Linked DNA regions of Homo sapiens: region 2 is linked to region 1. The links are contacts of gene promoters, found by promoter capture Hi-C in blood cells and fetal thymus (Javierre and others, 2016). All regions are on one chromosome and are shown on one strand. The core of a region is centred on a gene start or on the middle of the fragment in contact, and the rest is flanking DNA. Distances in the headings are between cores, read along the strand shown.

Evidence for each region. The method cuts DNA at HindIII sites, captures the fragments that hold promoters and counts their contacts. A CHiCAGO score of 5 or more calls a contact.
Region 2: a fragment that was not itself captured here is called in contact with the fragment with the promoter of NKAIN2 in region 1 in 1 of 17 cell types (megakaryocytes); the score reaches 6.0 in megakaryocytes.

The regions. Positions count from the first base shown.
Region 1 is chr6:123,800,669-123,806,608 of GRCh38, reverse strand. It overlaps NKAIN2 (sodium/potassium transporting ATPase interacting 2), which reads right to left and starts at 2,744. Exons shown (of 7, transcript NM_001040214.3): 1 at 2,355-2,744. The coding sequence starts at 2,408. RefSeq lists an enhancer at 3,939-3,988. The HindIII fragment of the contact is 9,489 bases long and covers 1-5,940 here.
Region 2 is chr6:123,966,951-123,972,890 of GRCh38, reverse strand. The region is part of intron 1 of NKAIN2 (sodium/potassium transporting ATPase interacting 2); the gene reads right to left. Among named protein-coding and RNA genes, the nearest start is that of NKAIN2, 170 kb to the right of the region's middle. The HindIII fragment of the contact is 1,367 bases long and covers 1,853-3,219 here.

The sequences.
Region 1 (5,940 bases), core at 1,495-3,994:
AGCGCAAAGACATAAAAAGTTTTTAAAAATCTATTGAGAGCAAAAGGAAAACATACACACCCACCTATTTTTTAGTGCAGGGCTTTGCAACTATTAATTTGCAAAAGAATTATTTTATTTAAAATCAAATACCGTATTTCCAAAAAGCAACAATTACCAAGAATCTCTGAGGTCCTTTGAGGTGTGATCATTTCACCCTATCAAAACAATTGCATTTTCTTTGTCCTTTGTTTTTTGTTCTGCATCTGCGTTAACATGGCTGCTAATTATATTAGCCTGGTGGCACATAAAGTCTGAATGGGAAAAATCACATGATTCTCATATAATATAAAAACTCCTTAGGATTCCAATGTACACTTACTTAGATTGTGCTCTTCTGTATTACAGCTACGTCTATTCTGTTAGAGAACTTAATTATAATTCAGAATTTCTGTTTCATAAGTGATGGTGCAACTCTCCAAGACACCATTGTATGTATGGATGCATGCATGTACTCAAGAGCATATGTACATACACACATATGTGAGCACATAAAAACACAAAGGAACCTTTAGCTTTATCATTCTACTTTGAATAGATAGCTTCCCTACTGGTATATTTATGTTTTTCTAAAATTAAGTTCTTGAGGAGTTTGTATTCATCACACAAAATGTCATACAGACCTAGTGCATACATTTGCCATAAGAAAGCCCTATTATATTACATGATTAGAAGTTAAATCACATTTTTCAAATTTTAAATCGAAAAGAGCATAAGAATGATCTACACACCCACTCATTCTCACATTTTTATGCTTTCACACAGTGAATCAGCAAATGTATTCTTTTTCTGAATAATATATAAAAATAAGAATGTTTTGAAAACCTTTATACAGTTTGGCAGACTTAGCCTAATGGGTTGTTTAACAAAGTAAACTCCCTCATTGTTTTGGTTAGCTTTATTATTAAGAGTAAAAATCCTTCATTGCAAAACTTATATGAATCTGTGGTACAGAAAAATAAACTGGTTTACACATCATTGAGAAACTACCACATTCTGAAAATTACATTTATAGTTCCATCTTTGTCTTACAACCAAGTGCATAAGCGCATAAATCACAGATCAAAATAGACACCATCAGATAACTTTCAGGGGAAAGAAAAACATCCTAAGACAACACACAACAAAAAGCACTGTTTCAGCTAAATATTAAACAAAGCAGCAATAACTAACACTCATGGGCTTCACGACAACTGATAAACAAGAACACTTAAGGAATTCCTCTGCCAGTTTCAATGGCAAATCCTTGCTCTTTTGAACACTTTACTGATTGGACACTTAAACATCTTCTGCCTTGTAGTCACTTCAACCTTTATGAAACAGTTGTTGAAAACGGACATGACTATTCCAGTTAATTTATACTTTCTAAGGAAATATATTTAATGACAAGTGTGAGCAAGTAGCTCCTACCTCAAATTAACCACTTAGAGTGGTGTATTTTTCACCTCTCAACTCTCTACTCAGACCCTCCTTCCATTGCCCTTAGGGAATTGAAATTCAGAGACATGACGTTTTCCATTATTGGTTCCTTGCCCCTTTGCAACTGTACAACATTCCTCAAAAAGTACATAGAATTCTCCATCCTATAGGATCAGACAACAGTATCTATTTCAGGAGCAATAATATGCATAATGTAAGACAGAATAGTTTTTCTTGGAATTGTCTGTGTTAATTGTGATTTAAAGGTTACTGGTTCCGTCTATGACAATGGTGTTGCTGAGTTCACCTAAGTATTTTTGTTCAATCTGCATACTTTAAAAACTCAATGTGGCTAAAACTCAAACAGTCTAAATTAGACTGTTGTAAGGATACCATGTGCCCTAAACAGTGGTTTTTTTAGAGCATTATACTTAAAGACAACATTTTCCTTAAAAAAAGAAAAAAAACATGTCTATGAAGAAACAAAGATACTGCAAAATTAGTATAGAGAAGAAAAGTCCAAAATTCCGTATTCCTCTGTTTAACAACCTGTACGGTAAATTGTAGGTGACAATCACGTTGTTACATGAATAGGAATGCAAAGCATAAAGAACAAGAGCTACATCTTGCTTTTCCTAAAGAAATTAAAGACAAGTTTAACCCGCACCTGCCAAACTGTCTTAAAAGGGACAGAAATAGGTGGGAACGGAAAGGCTCACCTCTCCTGTACCCCAGAGTGCGTCTCCCTGAAATCATCTTCAATATAGGCAATATATCTGTCACCTTCTCTTTTATCTTTTTCGTCCATTCTAGTCAATGGCAGACCCTTTGCTGCACTCCCCTGCCCACTATCTCAAAGACACATTACAGAATAAGGGGACCCAAGTGTCACTTACCAGTTGCATGCCACAGATAAAGATAAGCGTGCACCTGCCACTGCAATAACCCATGGTTTCCGAGACCCCTGCCACAGCCAGACTGTCCCACGTCGGCCACCGTCGAGCCCCCACTTTATCCAATCAGATCGCGGGGAAGGACACGCAAACCTGCCGAGGGCTCGGGGGCTCCGGGCTGCTGCTGCTGCCAGCGTCCTGGGAAGTGACAGGCATTAGGACCTGCTGGCGCGGCGGCGGCGGCGGCGGCAGCTCCAGCCGCGCCCGCCACACATACCTTCACTCGCTCGGTGCACACGCCGCGCCGCGGGCAGTGCCGCCTGCGGAGGCGCGCTCGGGGCCCGCAGGGGCAGCAGCGGCAGCCTGGCAGCGCCGCCGCGCCCTCGGGCATCTGGCCCGCGAAGTTTCGCCCCTGCCGCTCTCCGCGCCGCTCGCCTCACGCCCCCCAGCGCGGCCGCCGCCCGACGCGCGCTCGCCCTGCGCTCGCCGCGCGCCGGCTCCGGGGGCGGCAGAAGCGCGCGAGGGCCGCTGCCCGCCTCCCTGCGCAGCCCGCGGCTCCTAGGCACCCTGCGTTGCTGGGCCCGGCGGGCGGGGGTGGGGCGGGGAGCGGGGCGCGGGCCGAGCGGGGGCGTCCCGGCTCCGCGGTCCCCGGCGGCTGCTGCAGCGGCTGCTGCGCGCAATGATGCGGGTCCGCGCCGCGTCCCAGCAGCGGCGCTGCCCCTCCCTTCGCCCAGATGTGTGAATCCTCCTCCTACAACAAATCCTTCATCCTGCTCCCTGCCGCCCCCTCCCAGGGGGCCAACTTTGAGGACCGCAGGGGCTGCCGCCCAGGCGGCCGCAGGCGGCGGTGTCTAGGCGGAAAGGAGCGGCGCGAAAGCGGCGGCGGCGGGGACCGGGGCCTCGGGGCGAGGAGTCTGGGCGGCATGACCGCGGTTTGCTGAGCTGAAGTCGGTCGTGCTCCCAGAGCCACTCCGCGGGAGCGAACCGAGTGTGTGTGTGCGCGCGCGCTCGGGGGAGAAGGGACCAAGAGGAGGGTTAGGGAAGGAAGCTGGGGTCATGGAACAGGGGTGCAACCGAGGCATCCAGAGCGGCCGGAAAGCCCGAGTGGCGGAGAGGCCAGAGGTGGCGAGAAGGGGCGCGGCGGCACCGGACGCACCGCCCAGCACCTGGCTCCCCTGGGCTCCCGAGGATCTGAAGGGTCGGAGCGCGGAGAGCTACGGAGCCGACCCTGCTTGGGGAAGGGGACCGAGTTGCTGCTGGAGTTGGGAAAAATTAGCAACCGGAGGGAATAGGGATGCAATGAGTTGCTGTTGCTGCTTCAAACTGTTGTTTGTTTTCACTTAAAATACTAAAGAGTCGGAGACTAGTTTAATACTCAGTTACTTCAGCTTCACAGCAGTCCCAGCTGGGTGTGGATTCCTAGTGGAGATGCACCAGCCTCCGCTGAGCACCGGCCTGAAAGCTGTGAAGCGGCTGCTACCTGCAGAGACAGGCTTCGGAGCCCGCTGCTGCCACCTGCGGGCGGAAAGCTGAAGGGCGCAACATGCTGGCCCAAGTGGCTGCCCCTGGGGCGTGGATATTTAGGACCAAGTTTCCTTTTTAGCCCTGGCAGCTAAGGAAAGCAATCCTAACTTTTCCAGGAAGTGAAGATTATTTGTTGAGATCCACTGAGGAACTGACTCATTGGGGTGAAGTGTCGCGATTGATAAGAGGATGGTTTAGGGAGCTAAATAGCAAACAGCTCCCTAGCACCCTTCTTAAGAGATTAAGATGACGAAGCCACATCAAGCAGAGAGCTCTCTGTAGCAACTGGAACTTGGCGCCTACTGAGAAAAATGGCATTTATACAGGATAAAGTTATGCTGGGAACCACAAATAAGGATCCCGAATGATTGCTTCCTTTGAATAAACATTATGACGTATCAGAATGACTAAATACAAATAAATTGAATAGGGCAGAGAGACTATTCTCCAGAGCCTGGCACTGAATTTTCAGAAACGTTTCGTCAGTCCTAGGGAGCCAAAAAGGGATTAACTTTGTTAAATTTATGGAGCACAGATATTTTATTGCTATAATGAGAATGTCTGGTTTTAATCGACCCATTTGTAAAGGGGCTTTTCTTCTGAAAAGTGTCTTTCAATGTTTAATAAAATTCCCAAGAGCCCAATATGTGCTCTTAGGCACTGCAAAGCCTGGAAGGTAATAGTTCCACAACCTTTGGTAAAACTGAAGCCAGTTATCTAGTGGAAAATGTTTCTCTTAGTTGCTCTTCTGTCTTTATACACGTTAGCTGTCCTGTACCTGCTAGGGCTATGGGTATTTTGCATTGCCAAACAGAAAGCTGTAAGTTAATTGACTGTTGAAGAAGCTGCTGCCATACTGTCAAAAGCATTCTATTACCTCCTCAAATTAATCATAGGAACAACACATTTATATGGATCCCTCCGTAATCCTGCAGAGGTTTCCCTGCAACCAGCAATAGCCTGAGTAATCTTTAGGTTGTATAGGAAAGCAGAATGCTATCTGTAGCTGACTCCAGCAGTGCCCCACCATAGTTCTTGGACTGTGCCCTTTCAGTCCATGCTTGCGTTTTTGTAATCACTTGGGACAGTCTGTTTTCTAGCCATTGGAGGTGCTTGGCTGAACAATAAGGTTCCAGCCCTAAGAGCTACCCTCACGCAATAATGGATGGGAATTGGAGGATAAATACCCCAGCTTCTTCAATCCTCATATGGGAAACCGTCAGACATGTTCTAGTCTACACCATTAAGGTCCCCACCGAGATTGAGCCCTAGGTGTCCACAGTAGTAACTGGCTCATTCATGCGCTCTGAATTGGCTTCCTTCCCTTCCATGCCTCATCTCCCTGCTTTCATACCACTGCTTCCTGGGATCACCTCTGAAATAAACCACTCAAATCCTTGTGTCAGAGCCTGCCTCTTGAGAATCCCAACCTAAGGCAGTCTCCAGGGGCTTTTATACCTCATCTGACGTCATTGGCACAGTGTTCTCAGAAGTGTGAACTACAAACAATGTTGAGACTTCACTATGTGCAACTACTGCCTTATGTACTAAACCTACATCGTCTCATTCATTCCTCACAGGAAACACATGAGTTGATACAATGCACATTCTAAAGATATACAAACTCAGAGAGAAATCAAATATTTTTATCACGGGTGCACGTGTTCTTGGCGGCAGAATTAGAATTTGAAGGGCATGATTATAAGACACCAAAATTCGCTTTTCGAACTACTGTACCACACTCCTTTATTTCAATATACTTCCCTGTCATTCTTTTAGAATTCCATACGAAAGTGATGACAAAAATATTTAGAAGAATAATCACACATATTTTATCTCTAAATTGGCATCACATCCTTTACATACAGTATAGGCAATGCCTGACTTATGAAAGGGCACCCTAGTTATAGATGCAATTCTATAACTTAATGTGGCTATGCACTTCCTATTCTGTTTTCTATTATTCCTGGAACTGAGTGTCTTAGTAGAAGAGACTAAAAAGAGAATCCCAACAGTTCCACAGACGTTTGTGAAGGAGAGAGATGTCTCCAATTTGAATGTTGAT
Region 2 (5,940 bases), core at 1,287-3,786, 170 kb before region 1:
AGTATGTATATTCCAGCACACATGCAGACCTCACAACAACTTTGTATTTATCTACCATTGGCCAAAATTTCCAATCCCATGATCTCCAGAGGAGGAAAGGGAATCTATTCCTGGAAGTCAAAGAATAAATAAGGTAGAACTAAATGGCATGGTCAATATTAGTGGCTTATGAAAATGTTTGTTGGTTTTAAAGTTGATGGCTATTTTTTGAGTAGTAACAAAGTTTTACCAACATTAATAAGGCAAGGGGGACTTTCTCCAAGCTAACATCAGGCTCTTATCTTTTATAGAGCTTTTTACACAATATCCAAAGACGCTCACTGTTCAATTATAAGATTTTCTTTCAATCTTTCAATATATCCATGTTTCAGACACTGGAATAAGTGGCAGCTTCTCAGCTACTCAGATTTTAAACCTTAGTTCCTATCTCCAGTTTTCTCAGTAAATTAAGATCTTTTTCAGTTTGCGTTTAATCTTCCATTAGGCTATTTGTCTCAGAAATCCCTTGAGTTCTGTGATGACCTAAAATCAAAAACATACTAAAAATCCAGTTTGATCAAATCTAAATAATGTATGGTTGACCCTTGAACAATATGGAGGTTATGGGTGCCAACCCCTCACACAGTAACTTTTGGCTTTCCAAAAACTTAACTACTAATAACCTACTGTTGACAGGAAGTCATACTGATAACATAAACCATTGATGAACACATATTTTGTGTATTCTATGTATTATGTACTGTATTCTCACCATAAAGTAAGCTAGAGAAAACAATGTTAAGAGAAGCATAAGAAAGAGAAAATATATTTACTATTCATTAAGTGGAAATGGAATCCTCTCTTCATCCTTGTCATCTTCATGTTGAATGGTTGGGGAAGGGGAAAGCTTGGTCTTACTGTTTCAGGGGTGGCAGAGGCAGAAGAAATCTGAGCATAAGTAAGCTTGTGTGGTTCAAACCCATGTTGTTCAAAGGCCAATTGTATTTTACTTGTCCAGACTCTTGCAGAATATGAAACTTTAAAAGCCTTTTTTAAAACATCTTAAAGCATTTTTCAAAATATATTAACTTTCAACCGTATTAATATTTATAAACAAGAGCCAAACTTTCAAATGGAAACTCACATGTTATCGGTCTGGGTGCTTGTTAGATTTCACTAACTAAGAGCAGAAGACAGCTGATAAGAAAATCCCCCAAACCTTCCCCACTCCAGCCAATGTTGTATATCCAATGGCTGTGTAACACAGACATGATGGGGACAACAAGCTTTCCTAAGGGAGATAACTTTACCATTATTCATCCAGGAATATCCGCTCAAGATATTAGATGTGTAGGAATCAAACCATCCAAACTGACACAAAGTCAGGTTTCCATCCAAACTGACACAAAGAGATTGACTACAAAGCAGAGAATGTATACTTCTTGTCTGGATGGGAGTGCTATGATAAAAAGCAGTATGTGTGCAAAAAGAAAGAACAAAACCCCTTGAAGCACATACAAATCCGTATTAAAATACAAGGCAGTTATAATTACTATATTAATATATTTTATATAATATATAATTTAAATTACTCATAGCAAATGTTACTTGTGAAAGATATTTGACTTTTACATTCTTTCTAGGCTAAATAGTGCCTTGTAAGAGAAACCTAATCTAGCTACTAGAGCATTAGTTCCACTGTCACCTGGCCCTGAGTACTCTCTGATCCTGCTACATTTTGCTTCATGGGCTTCCTTATATACTAAGTATGTACTTACTATCTCTGGCCCCAGTCAGACTATCATTTTCATTAGCACTAGAACTTTTGATTGATTTATGCCCTATTTCCTAGGCTTCCAGCATATAGTAAGCTTTCAATAAATATAAATCAAATAAATGAACAATTTTGATGTTTTACAGGACCACCACAGTTTATGACTTAAATTGCAAAGATTGTTTTAAAGCATGCCTTATTACAAAATAGTTAATATTCTTAAAAAATAAATATTTCTTTTTTTCTTTTTTTTCTTGAGACAGAGATTCACTTCGTCGACCAGGCTGGAGTGCAGTGGCGCGATCTCAGCTCACAGCAACCTCCGCCTCCTGGGTTCAAGCAATTCTCCTGCCTCAGCCTCCTAAGTAGCTGCGATTACAGGCACGCACCACCATGCCTGGCTAATTTTTTGTATTTTTTTAGTAGAAATGGGGTTTCACCGTGTTACCCAGGCTGGTCTCAAACTCCTGAGCTCAGGCAATCTGCCCTCCTTGGCCTCCCAAAGTGCTAGGATTACAGACATGAGCCACCACACCCAGCCAAACGATAAATATTTCTAAAGAACAATGAAAAAATAAAAACAAAAATCCTCATCTTTCAAGTCAGAAAGCTAAAGTTCAAAGTGAGTAAGTTCAGAACCAAAGTCAAAGGCTGATTCTGGGGCTTCTTCCTCATTCAGTACTATTTCCCGTGGTAAATTATGTCTCTATTTCTTAGGCTTTCGTGGCAATTAGAATCCCATCTGTGTTTTCATTTTATGCTCCTTTAAATTTATTTTCAGTGATAGAACTAAATTTAAACTCTTACTATTTCTTCTAGTTGTTTTTCTCACCAAACTCTCATATACATACCAGCCTTACCATTTGATTTTGTGACAGGAGTGAAACTTTGCAAAATAAAATGAAGTTCCTTTTGTTCCTCTTCCCTATTACCCTCTTCTTCCACAAAGAAGGCAACTACTAGGCTGAATTTGATGTGTATCTTCCAGTTTATGTTTTTAAACATTTATACATATATATATATATATCCATTTAATAATCAGTATTTTGTGTGTTTTAATGACATGAGTAGTATAATATTGTACAATTCTGCTCTCATATCTTGTTTTTAAAATTATGTATTTGATACATACATCTAGTTTATGCATTTGTCCTAAGACATATTATTTTATCCTTTGATTGAATTATTCATTTTACTTATATATCCACTATAAGTGAATGTCTTCTTTCAATTTACTTATTTTGGCCAATTCATTTTATCTACTAGTTATTTTTGCGGCAGACACTGCTGGTTGGGTAACCCAGAGATCATTCCAAATCCCTTTTCCTCTCTCCCAGCTCCAGGACAGAGGCTGGGAAAGTAAAATCCTTCCTTTCTTTACTCTGTCCTAGGGGAAGCTAAGTGACATCAAGGCATTGCCCATCTAGACACTGGCAACTGTATCCAGAGTGGATTCTGTTGAAGCTTTTGCTTTCCTGATAAATGTGTTAAAGGTCTCTGTGCAACTCTCTTCTCCATTCCTTTTGAAAATAGGCATGCTATTTGAAGCTCTGGCAGGCATCTTGAAACCATGAGAGAAAAACAAAAAAGTCTTACTACACAGATTCTGGCTCCGGCATTACTGAGCTAGTGCAACGGTCCCTTCATTTAGGTCTACATAAATGTGTGCCAGTCATCTTGGTGAGAAAAATCAACCTCTATTATTAGCAGAGGTAGATTTATTCTTCAGCTGGATGCATTGTTAAACCGCAGCCATCTCTTCACAATCATGTTTATTTCCATTTCCTCTTTACTTCACTTCAACAGACCTTTTTAACTCCATCCTTATTCCTTATAAAAATATATGTTTTACCTCACATCATTTCATACCATAATGAGCAAAAATCCCATCACACATTAATACCTAAGGCGCTTGCCATTTTGTAATACAGTGGTAGTCAGGGTAAGTCTCACTGGAAAGTGAGCAAAAACCTGAAGACAATTGATAGTTTTGAAAGCCGCATCTTATTTTTTCTCAGGAGATACTGAGATTGGGTTAAAATTATTTTTCAGTGGTGGGACCTATACCTCCAGGTAAAGGCAACTTATATTCAAATCACATTTAGTCAGAACTATAAAGTGGGGGACTATGAGCTGGGGGGAAGGAGGAAACTACAGAAGAGTAGAAATGGAGCTCTCCTCACAGAGCTCATGGCCCAGAGGAGGGGGTCCAGGCCAGCCCAGCACAGCAAGGTGCTCCACACTTTGAAAATGAATGGGAAAGGTCCTGTGACTCTGAGGAGGGTGAAGGCTCAGGTCTGCCTGGGACAATCACTGAAGGCTTTATTACACATTTAACCCTTGAGTTCACAATTAATGGTGAGCAGAAATTTGTAAGGCTAACAGGGGCATTCCAGAGAGAAAGAATAGCGGAAGCAGACTAGAACATCCACACAGCTTCAGGCAATGATATAAGTTTATCATGAAAGGAGCCACACTGTGAGCCATAGAGTAGCAGAAGATGCAAGTTGTGCTGATAACTAGGACACAGCTTAGAGAAAGCTAGGATCCCATTGTACAGGCAGAAATAAATGAAGAATCTCAGAGATTTGGAAAATCACTACATGGCCCAAGAAAGTTTTGAAATGAGCTCAGATGATACAAAACATTAAATGTATATATTTAATCTCTTCAGATACAGAGCAACATGTTTAATTTCTAAAGGACTGAATGCATACTCCTGCTTTTACTGCTTTGAACATTTGTTTAATTGTTTTTAAATTGTCCTCTTCAGCCCCAAGATGGAATCATCTGGACCACTATAAGTAATAGCACCCGTGGCTCCTATTTTGGACATGTGATTAATTGAAGGGCATGAGCCAGAAAAGCCGTCCCCCTGGCCCACCTCTTTCTCTTTGCTCTCAGTGCAAGTGCTCCATTTCCTGTTTCCAGCCCTCAGCTGCTTTTCTTTTCCCCCTGCCTCACAGTGATTATACTGAGAACACATTTGAAAGCAAAAAGTTGGGCGAGAATTCCAACAGGTGTAATTAATGTCAAGTGCTCCTGCAAGTGGCTGCGCTTTCCAGCTGCCTGCTCCACCTGCTGCCTTCTGTGGCTGCTTTCTTAATGCCGTGTCCATCTGTTAGAAATATGCATCCAGAACTCATCATTTTACATCCTGAGAGGCACCTGAACCCTCTTCTCCTCTTCTTAAGTGAGCCCTTAGAGCGTCACTTTATAGGCACGATTAGTTAAGTGTTGAGATACCACAGAGAGCGAGCACACTGGCTCCTCAGGGCACCTTTAATACCTTAAGGGAGTTTGTACATAATCGAAGTGGAGGAACAAAGAAGGAGAAAAGAACCCTCACTCTATACTTAAAAGGAGAAAGTGTAAGAACCAATACTTTCTTCAAATGTATACTATATCTATGTAGTTGTGAGTATGTGTATATATACACACACTCCCCCCCTTTTTTTTCACATAATGTGTCAGTTCACATTGGGTGATGTTACATTGGCTTTGTTGGACTTCTGTGCTCTACACCAACCTTCAGTTGGGGGTGGAAAACCACAGGGAAGATTCTTCTAGCACCAGTTCTGGCCCAGTGTATGGGAAATATGATGAGGACATGAAAAGCTGCAATTATTGGTAGGATAAGATAACAAACAATAGAGAGTAGCAGAGTCAAAAGGGGGGCAAGTTGTAAGTCTAACTACAGAAATGGTGCTTGGCCCAGTACTCAGCACATTATTAGCTGGCTTCCCAGTGAACTCGGCTAGATGCCATGAAGAAAAGAATCAGAAAAACCAATTATACTGACAACTGATGATAACTGAATGTGTTTTATCCCCTGAAGAGTATTTGCAATTTCAAAGAAAACTCTCGGAGTCTCAATGGCTTAAAACATACACATGTGCACACCCACTCCCACAAATGTATTTCTGATAAAGCCTGAGCTAACAGACCAAGAAGATAAGGCAGGTATTTGAGGAAATTACAAGGAAAGTGCCCAGTGCTTCTAGAAACATAGCAAAAGTGTTGCCTATTCCGGTTACACTTAAAGAGCAGTCCTGTGTCTAGTTATCTTTGGGATCTAATGAAGGGGACTGTAAGTATAGATATCTCTAAATTAATCATTTCTGAAACCCCAGGAGGTTGTTTTAATCTTTAGGACTCGGGAGATTTTTATAATGTTTATGTTAACT